Linked DNA regions of Homo sapiens: region 2 is linked to region 1. Evidence: promoter capture Hi-C in 16 types of primary human blood cells and fetal thymus (Javierre and others, 2016). All regions are on one chromosome and are shown on one strand. Each heading gives the region's core, a stretch centred on a gene start or on the middle of the fragment in contact. The rest is flanking DNA. Distances are from core to core; before and after follow the strand shown.

What was found. The method cuts DNA at HindIII sites, captures the fragments that hold promoters and counts their contacts. A CHiCAGO score of 5 or more calls a contact.
Region 2: a fragment that was not itself captured here is called in contact with the fragment with the promoter of LINC02910 in region 1 in 1 of 17 cell types (neutrophils); the score reaches 6.2 in neutrophils.

Annotation. Positions count from the first base shown.
Region 1 is chr20:60,054,511-60,057,259 of GRCh38, forward strand. It overlaps LINC02910 (long intergenic non-protein coding RNA 2910), which reads left to right and starts at 1,415. Exons shown (of 4, transcript NR_161293.1): 1 at 1,415-1,498. The HindIII fragment of the contact is 13,245 bases long and covers 1-2,232 here.
Region 2 is chr20:60,234,952-60,237,651 of GRCh38, forward strand. The region is part of intron 3 of MIR646HG (MIR646 host gene); the gene reads left to right. Among named protein-coding and RNA genes, the nearest start is that of MIR646, 72 kb to the right of the region's middle. The HindIII fragment of the contact is 2,176 bases long and covers 201-2,376 here.

The DNA.
Region 1 (2,749 bases), core at 165-2,664:
AAAATACTCTTCTATAATTTCTAAATTTTATGCCCTGAGGATGTATTACCTCCATAGTCAGAAAAATTATGAAAGGTATTTAAAACCCAAACTGGCTTTGGGCATGCAGAATGCTTGGTTATTTCTGAAGTATAAAAATAACTCCCCCTCTGTCCCATCAGCACGCGTGTTGCAGGGAGTCTGACGTTGCTCGCTAAGTCTCTTTGGTCGTTTCATACTAATGCCCTTTGCTCCCCTGATTATCTCTCTGAGGTTGGGGCCGGGGGATGGGGGTGTGCTAGGCCTCCTGGATGTCTGTCTGCTGCCAAAACATCCTCTCCTGTCTCTGTCTCATTGGTGCATTTTGATGAACCTGTATTGCCTGGTCACTGCGCGCTAACCACCAAATTATGAAACATTTGTGCTGCAAGGGAGCTGAGAGATCCTTAAACTCAATGAACCATTAGGCATAAGACACACACACACACATACACACGTGAATACACACAAACACACAAACAGCTTGGCTGCTCTGGGTGAAGCATGTGTGTGTTTGGGGGAAATTTCCTTCCCCACCCGTGGTCGTCCATTTGCCCATGAGCAGCTTCCGAGGCAGGTCCGTGGACCCCAACGCTGTGTAACACCGTGTGAAAAACACAAAGGCTTGCAGCCCTCTCACTGCAGACGTGGGAACACGACTCTGTTTAAAACCCTTCAAAGCCCGCCTTCTTGCCGTGTGATGCTGCCTGGGCCAGCAGGGCAGGTCACCACGCTGTCTCTTCAAAGCAGCTCGCTCATGCCCACAGCGCTGGGCACAAGGGCAGCCACGAGCTGTTTGATTTCTGCGTCCCCAGCAGATGGCTTGGTGCACAGGGGCAGGGCTCGTCTGTCCCTCTCACTGCTGCGTCCCAGGCTATGTCTCCACCATGTAACTTCAGACAAGTTCCTCAGCGTCTCTGTGTCCTGGTTCCCTCATTTGTAACATCAGGATATTGATAAGGATCATAGTAATAGGGATGTCCTTATGGGGCCTCATGAAAATGAAGAGTTCTCTGTGATGTGCCTGGAACCACAGAGGGCAGCAAGTGGGAGCCACAGAAAGTCATCTCTTTATCATAGTTGTCATTGGTAACTATGACGGTTATCAAGGGCAGGGGTCTCCCACCTTCTGCATCCAGGCCTTGTCATTCCTTATAAAATTTTCTCCTTTCAAGGACTTTCAATGCCCTGAAAACGGAATGCTCCTCCCTGCTCCCCATCAGCTGCTGCAGAGCCCTGAACCCCTTGAACTTGCCTTGCTTAGTTCTTTCAGGGGCTGCCTTGGATGCCACCTCACTTCCCTCTTCTTGGCTCTGTGGCTGTCAGAGGGGCTGGGCACTGGGTTACTTCATCAGTTCCTGGGTGTTGATCGGCAGGAAACAGTGGTTTCCTGTTCATATCCTGCCTGAGCCTGGGCCGGGTGGAGGTGTCCTGCATGGAGTCTTGTGAAATCGCGTGGACTGCAACACCCAGCAGCGCGGTGAGTCCACCCTGAAATCCACAGTGACCCACGCGGCATGTGCTGGGAATTGAACGCTTGGGGAAAGAGCTGGGCTCCAGCGGATCAGCCCCGACCAAGTCGTTCCCACAGCTCAGGACCGGACGCTACAAGCCCACTTTGTAGCAGTTTGGCGGACGGCAAACTTTTGCAACACAGTGCAAAAACCATTTAACACCTTTAAGGGAATTGGAAATGGGTTTTTCATGTGTGGTGGTGCTGAAAATTGAGAATAATGACAGAATTATTAAAAACAGCCTTCTCGGCCTTAGACTCTTAATTGCCTCTGGTCTGTAAAACTGACAAATAAGCACTGTAGAAGCCACAGATGAAATATGTCGTCTTGGGAGCCCTGGAGAATTGTCTCTGAATTCTTTTGTTTATGGATTGTAGAAACTGCTTTGGGGGTAGTTGGATGTAGAAGCAGAAGGACAGAGTGGGGAGCTGGGAGCAGGAGGCCTGGGTTTGTCTCCTGAGTCTGTTTCCACTGGGGCCTGAGGCTCCCGTGTGAGGGAACATGAATGGGCCAGGCACATGGGCCCTGTGGGGTGACAGAGCTGTGGGCTCCATGGTGGCTCTGTGGGCAGCTAGCTTGGGGATGGCTGAGATAAAGACAAGTAGTTTTCCTTCCTGCAGGACTTCTCAGAGCCTTTAGTGTGGTTATAATGATAGAAAACAGTATTAAGTCCATACCCTGAACCAGAAACAATGCTAAAAGCTTTGCACTTGGCCTTTTTTTTTCTTTTTCTTTTATCAACATGTGTGAGGACGGAAGCTTAGGCTTACAGATATGGACTCATTGAGAGTGAGTGGACGTGTCTGATCTTTAACCCAGTTCTGTCTGACCAAAAAGCCTGTGCTCTAACCACTGTGCACCCCTGCCTGTCTGTCCTGTTGAGAGAACTGTAGGGAAAGCCTTGAGATTATGTATCCAGTGCTCCCCTCCTCCTGATTGGAAGATGGCAGCTCAGAAGGTTAGGGTGCCTTCTCCTGTCCTCCGAGTGGTTAGATGCACGTGTCCTCTTCTGTCCTCTGCTCTTCCCACATCCCTCTCTCTCTGGTGCTCTGGTGGAGCCCCTGGGATCAGGGGTCACAGGAGCACCTGGGCCATTTGCATGGTTGTTGGTAAAGGGTGTTCCCCCACCCCCCATTAAGGTGCCTGCCATCAAAGTGCCTTATTGCTTGAGTTCCAATCTCGGCTTCACAACTCTGTAGCTGTGTGACTTTGCACAA
Region 2 (2,700 bases), core at 39-2,538, 180 kb after region 1:
TGGTTATTGTGGGTAAAGACACGCATTGATTTTCTATTTATTAATAGGTGATTTAATGAGCCCTTGTTACGTATCTCAGTAGCTCTTCTGTTTTCCAGGTAGACTTTTTTCTGTATGGTAGTAATAATCATCATCTCTATTTTTCTAACAGATCATTTTAGGATGCTTAATTACTTTTGATAGAACAATGACAAATACAAAGCTTATGGGGATTCTTACCTTTATATAGACAATAATGGTATGCTTCAAGTGGTACTGCCTAAAGATAGATAGTCTTTACCATGACAGCAACTTTCTTCTGATTTGAGTTTATTAGGAAAATGTGTCAGAAAAGAATGTTGAATATTATCAGATGCCTTTCTATGCCTACATCCATGTAGAAGGTGATGACAGGATTTTCCCATGTAACCTCTAATAAGATGCATTATTCTAGTTATATAAGTACTTCTGTCAGTATTCCTTTTATCTTTAACTTTTCTTTATCACTTTATGCTGGAGTGTCTTTTAGACATATATAATTGGATATATATGTACCTGTAGGAGATATTTTATCATTTGATAGAAAGTTTAACACATTTACATTTTTGTTGCAATGGATATGATATACTTGATCTTCTTCTTGTCATTCTATTTCCGTATTCTGTATTTATGCCTCTTTTTTTCTTTGCTGTATGGATTATATTGCCTTTAATCATTTCTTAGTAATCTTGAAGACATATGTCCATTTTTATGGCCATGAATAGTTACCTTTAAGTGTTAAGAAAACACCTAAACTTCTGTTTATCTGTAGTTATCAGTATAAAGAAGAATAAATATCCATTGTATCCCCTTCACATAATACAAGGGACACACAGTTAAGAATGTTTTGGCTAAACAAACAAACAACAACAACAACAAAAACAAAGCTGTGCTCAATGTATCTTAAATAATTAAAGGCTTATTTCTCTAAAATGACAAGAAATCTGAACATAGTCAGTTCTTGGCATTGGTTTAGTAGATCAACAATATAAGAGTCAACATCTTTGCAAATCTCTTCCTCGTGGTAATAAAATGGCTGCTCCAGTTCCAGACATCATATTGACATTCAAGGCAGTAAGAATAAGGGAAGATCTGTGCCAGCCATCTCTATCCCAGGACCCAATACCTAGAAGACTTCACTTAACATCTCATTGGCCAGAACTCTGGCACATGCCCCTCCCCACAAACACAGAGGGCACTCAGAGAGGGAGCATCTCTTCTGCCTGGATGGTATAGGTGAAAAGAAAGGTGTGCCAGCCTCAGGAGAATTAGCACCTGTGAGCTCTTCCCACTTCAATGTCCTCTGTAGGGACTTTCCTACAAAATAAATATTTTCCTTTACAAATTATAGCATTGCATTATCAGTTAAACTGAAGGATAATATAGCATTTTCCCAGTGCATAGTAGGTAGTTCAAAAACATTAGTCAAACCATTTTTTCAGCTTATTCATGAATCACCTACCTTTGAATGGCTCTGCTTAAATTGCCAAATTCTGTATCTTTTATTATGTGATCTCATTTTTTATCTGCATTCCATTCCAACATGATTGCCTTTTTCTATTCCAAGTAATAACAAAATACATTTTCTTTCAAATAATTTGTATTGAGTTATCTATGAAAAAAGCTCCTTCAATGAAAAATAGACATAAATGCTGTCACAGCATCAGGAATAAGTAAGCAGATATCTACCTGTATGGTATTGCTCTCTGATGTTCTAATGCTTTTGTATTTAGATACTTGATCTGTAGTTTAGTTAACTCATTTATGGCTTTAGAGAATTTCTGGTTTAGTACAGAGATGTCAGGGGAATTCCGGTTGCAGAGTGTTGACTGAGATGGTCTTTCTGCTTTCCTCATACCACTTACAGTATGACTACTTGTATAATGAAATATGCTTTCTTCAAGGCTGGATGTTTCCCTGCAAAGCCTGGCATGCTTAGATTTATTTGTGTTGGAAAGTTTATGCAATTATATACACAGTTGTAACTTAAATAGACATGAATCCACTGAAGTTAGTTTTAGAAACTATCCAAAATTAATGCATTTTTGTGGTGCTTTAGAAAGTACTTAAAATTCAGGCTCTTTGGGTTCAAACCCTGGGTCTTCCACCATAAGATATATAGCTTGAGCTAGGCAGTCATTCTTTTTGGGCCTTATTTTATAAAATTTATAAATTTTGATAAATTCAATTACAAAATCAAGTTGGTATATTACAGGATTATTGTGAAGATTAGGAGTCATATGAAAGGGCTCAGAATACTGAATGAATATTTTAACTTACCAAGTCATTTTAACCTTGGTAAGTGTCTTCTTTCTTGGTAAATCTTCAACTCAAGTTCGGATGAACAGGAAAAATGAAAGCTTTAGCTCTGGGGAAATTCTATCATGCTCAGCTCTGCTCCTCAAGCACTGCAGCAGGAACTCTGTTTCTTTTCATTGCATGCTGTCCAGGTGCATTTGTACCAAATAAAATGGTCATGGTGCCCCTCATAGCCATTGTCTTGCAGCTGGTAGAGCACTTCCTAAAAGACCAGGTGTAAGGAACAGCGTGGGTATCTTGTGTGCCTGGTGAGGAGTGCCTATGAGATCTGGGATGGACACTACCCAAGAACAGCCCAACCTGAGTGGACTGGCATGATGGGTTCTGCTCAGCAGGGAGTGGGAACCTAAATATCAGATGGGG